Linked DNA regions of Homo sapiens: region 1 is linked to region 2. The links are contacts of gene promoters, found by promoter capture Hi-C in blood cells and fetal thymus (Javierre and others, 2016). All regions are on one chromosome and are shown on one strand. Each heading gives the region's core, a stretch centred on a gene start or on the middle of the fragment in contact. The rest is flanking DNA. Distances are from core to core; before and after follow the strand shown.

Evidence for each region. Contacts are between HindIII fragments. The CHiCAGO score rates a contact against its expected background, and 5 or more counts as called.
Region 1: a fragment that was not itself captured here is called in contact with the fragment with the promoter of KIF16B in region 2 in 1 of 17 cell types (total CD4 T cells); the score reaches 5.3 in total CD4 T cells.

Annotation. Positions count from the first base shown.
Region 1 is chr20:13,775,824-13,781,044 of GRCh38, reverse strand. ESF1 (ESF1 nucleolar pre-rRNA processing protein) reads left to right here. Exons shown (of 14, transcript NM_001276380.2): 3 at 4,775-5,172. Among named protein-coding and RNA genes, the nearest start is that of ESF1, 6.5 kb to the left of the region's middle. The HindIII fragment of the contact is 2,588 bases long and covers 2,678-5,221 here.
Region 2 is chr20:16,572,198-16,576,856 of GRCh38, reverse strand. It overlaps KIF16B (kinesin family member 16B), which reads left to right and starts at 3,409. Exons shown (of 26, transcript NM_024704.5): 1 at 3,409-3,628. The coding sequence starts at 3,582. LOC124904875 (a long non-coding RNA gene) reads right to left here and starts at 1,554. Exons shown (of 2, transcript XR_007067539.1): 1 at 1,130-1,554. RefSeq lists silencers at 3,373-3,502, 3,289-3,518 and an enhancer at 3,131-3,652. The HindIII fragment of the contact is 9,174 bases long and covers 1-4,659 here.

The sequences.
Region 1 (5,221 bases), core at 2,722-5,221, 2.8 Mb after region 2:
ACTACTTTGGGGTGTGGAAAAATTTAAGTTTGAGGACCAGAGTGTGCTACATGGAAAGAACTTTTTGAGCAAAGATGTGATTGGGCATGTTCAGAAGAGGTCAGTAGTCCCGTTTGATTAGATAATAAGGTCTTGAAGGGCCAAAATGAGTAGCAGCGAGAAATGATTGTTTGGAACTAGGTGAGAGACAGCTGGCTCTAGTTTGCATTACGTGTTTACTAATTAAAATTTTTTGTCACCTCCAGCAGCAAGCAATTTTGAGTGTTGATGTTGCTGATAGTTGAAGATGTAACTGAAAACCAGTAGTAGTTCACATGAGCCAGACCTGTGATTACAGGATCCAAGGAGGGGTCTTGATAGGCCGAGAGGTCTTGATAGGCCAAGAGGTCTTGATAGCCCAAGAGTTCTTGATAGGCCAAGAGGTTTTGATAGGCCAAGAGGTCTTGATAAGCAGAGATCACACTGTGAGGGTAGAAGGTATCAGGCAGTGGAGTGAATTCTGGATAGCAAGGACTAGGGAGTCAGTGGTGGTATCCCATTTTACATTTGTAGTGGAACCAGGCAGCAGACCTCTTGAGGTGTGGGAAGAAAGGATAGGAATCCGGTTACTAAAATTGAAGAATAAGATTGGAGTGGGACCGGCAGCAAAGTTGATTTGACACTGAATTAGTGAGGTAAGTTAGTCTAGCATCCACTTCATTTGGGGCACTGAATTAATATAACATAGCTATATAATCCTTTAGATTGATTTTACAGACTTTTTTACATATCTTTTCTCATTTAATTTTCTTAGTTACCTTGAGCAATAAGACTGTATCAGCGAACAAGATTAAAGTGACTTATGTAAGGACATGCAGACCTGGAACTGCAACTCAAGTCTTCTGACTCCTTCTACCCCACCACATTGCTTGCAGTAATTTTGTTGGTTCCACAGTCTAGGAAAGGCATTACTCATAAATAAGGATTACACGGCTCCATATATAATCTTCTGTTCATTATCCATTCATCAGTTATTACAGCAATTACTGTGTGCAAGGGCCTTTTTAAGTGCTGTGAAGTAAAGGTGATGTGAGGACTTGCAGTGTGATATTTGTCATCATGAAATGTTCATGCCCAGCACTTGCACTCCTCAGAATCTATTTTACATAAATAATTGGATGTGTGCAAAGAATGTGCATTGCAGCATTATTTTTAAAATAAAACGGTAACTGGCTGGGCACAGTGGCTCACCTTTATAATCCCAGCACTTTGGGAGACCGAGGCGGGTGGATTGCTTGAGGTCAGGAGTTTGAGACCAGCCTAGCCAACATGGCAAAACCCGGTCTCTACTAAAAATACAAAAATTAGCTGGGCATAGTGGTGCACACCTGTAATCCCAGCTACTTGGGAGGCTGAGGCACGAGAATCACTTGAACCCAGGAGGTAGAGGTTGCAGTGAGCCAAGATCGTGCCACTGCACTCCAGCCTGGGCAACAGAGCAAGACCTTGTCTCAAAAAATGAAAATAGAAATTAAAATGGTAACAAATCATTAAGAGATTAATTAAATATATGCAAACATCTGTGATCTATGAAGTTTTAAAAATAGGTTCCAAAATAACGATATGACCAGTTATTTTAAACAAATTAGTATTTAAATTAAAGAAAAGAAATTTAGGGATATGGTTGTATACTAAAATAACCAGTTATCTTTGAATGAAAAATTACTGCTAGTCACCTTTGTTTTATTTATTAACCATATTTTCCTAACTTTTTTTGGTTTGTAATGATCATTCATTATGTTTATAATTGGGGGAAAATGGTAAAGCAGTTTTTTTGGTTTTTTTTTGTTTTTTGTTTGAAGTAGCTGGATAAGTAGTAATGTTTACAGTCACTACTAGAGCAATACTGTCTAGGAATAGAGACATTTATATTTGTGTAACCCCACATTATCTTGCACAAGGCTGTGTACATTGTGGGCTCTAAGCAGATACTTTTTGGGGTTTTTTATTTTTATTTTTGGAGACAGGGTCTCGCTCTGCTGCCCAGGCTGGAGTGCAGTGGTGCAATCACAGCTCACTGCAGCCGCAACTTCCTGGGCCCAGGTGATTCTCCCACCTCAGCCTTCCGAGTCACTGGGACCACAGGTGCACCCCACCATGCCTAGCTAATTTTTGTATTTTTGTAGAGACAAAGAGTTTTGCCATGTTGCCCAGGCTTGTCTCAAACTCCTGGGCTCAAGATCCTCCCATCTTGGCCTCCTAATATGATGGGATTACAGGCGTGAGCAGCTGTGCTCGGCTGCAGATACTTATTGAATGAATAAATACTCTGAATGCAGTTGATATTGTTAAAAACATTGAAATGGAAGACCTCTTTAAGTCTCTTATGCAACACTTTATTATTATATAACCCAAAGTGTGGTATGTGTACCATTGTCATAAGTGAGAAGATTTTTGATGATACTCAAACTTCTAAAATATTAATAGTTATGTACTGTGTCAACATCTTAGAAAACAATGTAATTACCCTATCACTTCTGTGACTTTAGGAATATTGTTTAGAGCAAAACTAACTTTTAAAAAATTCAATTTAATAAAAAAATGATATTCAAAAATCATGAAAATGGTATAATGACTGACAGTTGAGAAATATTGCAATACTAGATAGACTGGGTCTGTAAGATGTTATTTCTAAGCTTGTTGCTTAAAAGTAAATTCTGCTTACCTCATAGTAACTTTCAATGTTGTGTTTTTCAGATCTCATATATAGAACCTGTGACAATGCTTTCATTTTGGCGCTTTTCACTTCTATTGGCTAGTTATTTTTATTAATCCCTGCTTCGTTGTGGTGGTAACATAAAAGCCCATTTCCTGCTTTTCCTTCTAACAAGATGCCTTTTCATTCAGTTAGTCTCAAGTCAAGTTGTATCTTTGTGAAGCCTTTTTATAAATACCTCTCTGCAGGCAAATTTAGATGTCTCTCACTGTATGGTGATTGAGAACATAGATTTATAAATCAGTAAATGGTTACCTTTTATTTATGAATCCATCAAGAGCATGAGATCGTGTTACAAATCTTCTCTCTTTTCCCTTATCCTAGCTCAATTCTTTGTATGTAGTAGATACTCAGTAAATATTTGGTCAGTGAATAACTATTATAAGATTATAGGACCAAGAGAAAATTAGTTCCAATTTCATTCTAAATCTTGAACTTTTAAATTTGCTTTTAATTTTCCAAACTTAGAGCCTGTAAGCAGAAAATAAGCTCCAACTTAAAGATGAGTAAAACACGTAAGATATATCTACACACCAAGTAGATAGAAGCCTGTGATTGCTTTAGAAGTAGGAAATGAGCCCTTTCAGAGTTGTGAGGACTAAAATTTCCATCTTAAGCAAAAACAGTCTTTCAATCTTGGTGTATTGCTAATCATGACAGTTGATTACAAAGTTCAAGACCTGGCAGAAAAAGTATAAATATTATTTCTCTGTCTTTATAGGTGATCTCATCCACATCACAGCTTCTGTTGTCAACTGCGTATGAATGAGTCACTGATCTCCAACCCAGACTTCTCTGAGCTGTACACTCTTATTATTGATACTTTCTTTTAGATGACTGAGTGGCACTTCGTATTCAACATATTCAAAACTGAACTCATGATTTCCCTCCACCAAACAAACTAGTTCATTTCCAGTGTTCCCTTTTCATCTTTCCATCTTCTTAGCTAACTAGCTCTGAAAGCTAAGAAGCTATGACTCATCTTTGACACTTCCAAAACTCCCAGTCCCCGTGTCAAATCTCCAGTCGGTAATTATTGGTTTCACTTCCTGACTGACTCTGAAATCCATGTACATCTCTGCATACATACTGCCACCCAACTTAGTGCTACCTTCATTTCTTGCTTTTTGTACTGTACTACCTTTACTATATTCACATCTGTTCTTTACTTTCCCAAGTCAGTTTTCTACAGTATAGTCAAGGTGATCTCCTCAATATGCAAGTCTGAGGATGACAATATCCAAAAGAAGATGACATCCTCTTTTTTGAAAACAGCAGTGTCTTCCCATTGCTTTTATGAAAAAGTCCAAGCTCTCTATATGGTTTTTTGATAGCTTGGCCTCTACTTAACTCTTCATTTCCATTTGTTACTTGATTCTGTGCTATCTGTGATCTGGACATGATGGTTGGCTTTTTCCTATTGGCAGATTTTTACAGGTACCTTCCTTGCTCTTTCAAACAAATTTCCATCTATTAGTCTAACTTTGACTATTTAACTCCTGTTCATCCTTCAAGTAACAGCTCAGTTATCACTCACTTAGGGACCCCATTAAATCCCCTTAGAAAACATTCTTTCTGGGATATCTTAGTTGTGATTTTAACTTTTCCTATATATTGATTTTATTTGATATCCATGTATTCTTTTCACTCAGCTAGAAGTTTCACTGAGAGCACTGTTTGCTTCTCTTTTACCAACTGTTGTATATTGAGCACTTAGCACGTAGCAGGCACACTGTTAAGTATTGAATGAATGTCTGGATCTACTTGCGTGATGTGAGCATGTGTTAGGATTTCCATTAAATAACTTGGTTAAGTGTATTTTCCTTTACTCTGTTTCATAGAAGTTATGGTTAGGATTTCTATCATAAAAATTGACTAAGCATTTACTGAATATATATTTGTCTTTACTGTGTTTCATAGAAATTATATTTTTACTGGAGTTGATGTCAAGATAATTTGGATTCAGTTTAATTCAGCATATATCTTTTCTTAATTTCTTTCCCCTTTAACATTTTGCAGTGGTTCAACTCATAATGACAAGAGACAGTGATGGTTATGAAAACTCAACAGATGGTGAAATGTGTGACAAAGATGCTCTGGAGGAAGATTCAGAAAGCGTTAGTGAAATAGGAAGTGATGAGGAATCTGAAAATGAAATTACAAGTGTTGGTAGAGCTTCAGGTGATGACGATGGAAGTGAAGATGATGAAGAGGAGGATGAAGATGAAGAGGAGGATGAAGATGAGGATAGTGAGGATGATGATAAAAGTGACAGTGGCCCTGATCTTGCAAGGGGTAAAGGAAATATAGAAACTAGTTCTGAAGATGAAGATGATACGGCAGATTTGTTTCCAGAAGAATCTGGTTTTGAGCATGCTTGGAGAGAATTAGATAAAGATGCTCCTCGTGCTGATGAGGTAACCTTTTGAATAAACAAGATTATTTGTGAAAAACACAGTACAAGCA
Region 2 (4,659 bases), core at 2,160-4,659:
AGCCGAGATCGCGCCACTGCACTCCAGCCTGGGCAACAAGAGCAAAACTCTGTCTCAAAAAAAAAAAAAAAAAAAAAAAAAAAAAAAAATATATATATATATATATATATATATATATATACACACATATATATGTATATATACACAATAAAAATAAAAATGTCTTTTATCCATCCAATTGAATTTTAAAATCATAGATTCTTAAACCTTTTTTATGCCGTGGACCCTTTTGGTTGTTTGGTGAGAGTAACATTTTCAGAATAACATTTTAAAATGCATAAAATAAAATAAATGGGATTACCAGGAAAATCAATTATACTGAACTATAACTATTAAAATGTTAGAAATAAATGTGATCTTAAGGTAGGTTTGTTATTTAGTGGCTCTCTTGAGTACCCACCCCTCCTTTGCGGGGCCCTCCCACATTGCCTGGGCGTGACCATGTGACTGCCTTTGGTCAATGGAAGTCCAGCAAAGGCTTGTGCATAGTGCGGTGCTCTCCTGGCGAGGTGTCTCGCCGCCGCAAGAAATCTGGAACCTGGTCTAAACTTTTTGAGGATGAAAAAGCAAAATGCACCAACTTTTCCTCACCCCAGGTGAGCCTAGAGCCCAGCCACAAAGCCCGGGTGACACCAGCAACCCAAAGAATTGAGAGAAATAATAACCGGTTTTTGTTTTAAGCCTCCACATTTTTGGCCATTATTTTTATGCATCAGTACATAACTGATTTGGATCCCTGAATTCTTACTGACCTTTTGGGCCCTGGATTTACTGCTTTTTTTTTTTTTTGAGATTGGGTCTCACTCTGTCACTCAGGTTGGAGTACAGTGGTGCGATCTTGGCTCACTGCAACCTCCTCCTTCCATGCTCAAGCGATTGTCCCACCTGAGCCTCCTGAGTAGCTGGGACTACAAGCACACGCCACCATGCGTGGCTTTTATTTTTGTTTGTTTTATTTTGTCGTAGAGACAGGGTTTTACCGTGTTGCCCAGGCTGGTCTCAAACTCCTGAGTTCTGGCAATCCATCCTCCTCGGCCTCCCAAAGTGCTGGGATTACAGGCATTAGCCACCGTGCCCGGCCTAGAGCTTCTGTAACTGTTTTTCACTATCAGTTATTTTAAGCTCTCACAGTTTGCGTAGAGGTCATCTATCCCCTGGCTCCTTGCAGGGAGGGTGGCAGCCGACAGCATCTTCACTCCCCGAACGTGCTGGAAATGCCATGTCTCAGGCTTCCCCTCTGACTTGCCCATTAGAAGCTGCAGTTTCACAAGACCGCCAGGTGATTCCTTTAAACATTCAAGTTTGCAAAACACTTTAAAGCAGGCACACTAAAGTCTGAGATGAGCAAACCCCTTATCTTATAATAATCTTCCCTTTCAGAAACTTCCTTCACGCCCCAATAGAAATATTTTCTGCTAAGAAAGTGCCCGTTCCGTATCGTCTGTGATGATCAAGCCTTACTGCTTCCTATTGAAAAGCTCCAGGCATGCTGTTTGTTGTCTAAAGCGTCTGCCGGGCTGCGATGGTCCGTTTTGTGTCAGACAGCAAAGTCGTGGATGGAAAGGGGGCTTATAAACACGTGTAGGTTGTTGGAATTACATTAACGAATGAATGAGCAAAACCTTCTAAACCACCGACCAATGAAACCCCGATACAGAAAATCGCTGTCATGAGTAAGTTAGCACTCCTGAAGAGTTTGAATACTGAACTGGCCAGAGTCTGCGCGCCGACGCCCCCCAGGTGGCCGGAGTGACCCGGAGCAGGCGTGGCTGTCTCTCAGACCCGCGCGTTGGGCCCGAACAGTTTGTCCCCACGCAGCTCCCATATAAGGCGGGCCCCTCCCCTGCCCCAGCCAGCTAGGTCGCCGCGCTGGCTCCCTGGCGGCTTCTCAAACCAACCCGCCGCTACTGCGCATGCTTGGCAAGCTCGCCCGCTCCTTAATATCCTGCTCCGGCTGTTCCTGCCACCCGTTGGTCAAATTCGCACCCAGCTCTGCTCCAGACAGAGGGAAAACCCAGTGATTTCCGGGCTCTAGAAACAAAGGGAGGCTATGATTCCCTGCTGGCCCTAGGGGTCCAGGGAAGGTTATGGAAAGATAATTCTTTGTGTAAGCGGGTTGCGTACTTGCAGACATCATCCCACTTGATGCATTCACCACTCTATGCCGTTGTTCCTGATTTGCAGATGAGACAAGAAGCCTCAGAGGCGCCCAGTAATTCAGAATTACAGGCTGACAAGGCTAGTGTTGGAGCTAGGACTTAAAAACAGGAGTTCCGCCTCCATTCCTTGCGTCTCCCATTATAGCTTGGCTTCCTGGAATGGCTGCTCCTGTGGCTCGCAGGTGGGCTTCTGGGTGTGCGCAAACGATTTCATGCATGCTCGATTCACTGAATGAATGAATGCATTTACCTTCTACACAGGAAGGGAGGTGGAGCTCACTTCTACCAGAGGCCCTAAGCCTTAAGATACCAGTTGTCGGCCTGGCGCGGTGGCTCACGCCTGTAATCCCAGCATTCTGGGAGGCCAAGGCGGGCGGATCATTTGAGGTCAGGAGTTCGAGACCAACCTGGCCAACATGGTGAAACCCCGTCTCTACTAAAAATACAAAAATCAGCCGGGCGTGGTGGCACGCCCAGCTATTCGGGAGGCTGAGGCAGGAGAATCTCTTGAACCCGGGAGGCGGACGTTGCAGTGAGCCGAGATCGCAGCATTACACTCCAGCCTGGGTGACCGAGCGAGACCCTGTCTCAAAAAAAAAAAAAAAAAAAAAAAAATACCAGTTGTGTTCGCCTTTAACTCCCTTATGATTAAAACTAAAAATTACTAAAGTGTACAAAAGTGCAAAACAAGTCTAAATAAGGTTTGATTCTAGCCAATATAATGACATTCCCGCACACATTTAAAACATCCAACACCCTATTAATTTTCGTTTATCGGTATCCCGAGTTAAGGGGTCCAAAACATACGGTCGGACCTCCTTAGGGTAGCAGAGAAGGCCCTAGCGGAGTTTGCCACCAACAAGCTGTGATCATCTCTGCGCCTCAGTTTGTTCGTGTGTAAAATGGATACGTTAACTCATGTTTGGCTGGGTGAAGCCAGGTTCTTGTTAAGGGCTGAAAAACTGGCTTTGGTCACCTGACCCCAGGACTGTGATCCTTGCCGCTGGCTTTAAATTGCTGCGATCCTCTTCTCTCCAGTTGTTCAGGCCATGAGGGTGGGTTCTAGTTTTCCTGAAACCATCCGCTCCGGGTCGCCCCCATAACCTCTGCGCCAAGGTCCACAACGTGGCCTTTCCAGACTTGCAGATCCCGGAGGCTGCTTCCAGGCCCCGCGGCCCCGCCCCTCTGCACCGCCCGGCCGCCGCCAAACCGTGGCGCATGGATCACGCGGGCCGGAGCCGTTCTGGGCATGCTCAGTGGCCTGGCAGGTGGGGCTGCCGCGGAACTCCAGGTCCGGCCGGGAGCAGAGGGGCGGGGGCGAGAGGGAAGTGGGCGGGAGCCGCGATCTGAGTAGCCAGCGTCGCCGGCGACCGCGGAGTTCTGGGCTAGTGGGACCCCGCGCGGGCTGGTTCGGGATGAGCGATGGCATCGGTCAAGGTGGCCGTGAGGGTCCGGCCCATGAATCGCAGGTGAGTGGGGCCGCCCGCGCCCCGCCCCCTCGTCGCGCCCCCACCCAGAGGAAGCCTGTTTCCAGCTCCCCCAAAGCCAGCCTGGACTTAAAAGTGTCACCGGCTGGTCCCTGGCCCACCGGGCCCAGGCTGTGGCCTCTGGGGGCCTGGAGGACTTCGTGCACTGCTGTCCCGTTCACATTGCCCTGGAGAGGACCCTGGTGGTAAAGGAGAAGATTCTATTAACTCTCTCCATCGTATTAACTTGAGATGTTCTTGTTCCCCCTTTAAAAAAGCATCAAGGGAACGTTACCATGAAGATGTAAAATAGTTGGGGGGAAGGTGAGAGTGCTGAGGGGGGGCACCACGAACTGTCAGGTGAACCCCTCATTTCTACCAACTCAGAAGTTCTCTTAACAATTAACCATGCTACTTTTTAATCTTTCAGTTAGAGATGATTTTGATTCCCTGAATGTCTAATCGATAACTTAGCAGTTCCTAACTTCATGTTAGAGAGTGGATGGGAAAACTTTGACAAAGTCCTGACTCCTAGAAAAAAGTCAGGGACGCTTTACACGTGTTTGAAATACTCTGATATTAAGAGAGAGGAAGAGTGTTACACACAAAATTTAATCTTGTTATATATTTCTACGAAGTAATGCTTTTTCAGAATCCTTCTCTTCATTCACTGAAAAATAGCCTGTGCTCCCTTTTCAATGACCTCTTTTTAATCCGTTTAGAAAGTTTCTTTGGAAAAGTTACTTTTTAAATTGGTTTGACTTCAAAGAATGAGGTAGAAATGGGATGTGTCCTCCAAGGTGACAGGCAAGGTTCACACAGAGCCATTTGATTTTATTGACTTCTCTACCAAGTTGGTGGATATTTGACTTACCATAGGGCCTTTTTGCTTTTGTCATATCAACTTGTGGAGGTTAATGTTTGGTAGTTCTGATGCCTGATTGGGGCAGCCGAAGGCCATAAAATCAAAAGATTTCCAGAACCTTATTTGACTCATCTAAATCTGTTTCTTCTCTTGGCAAGTAGGGAATCAT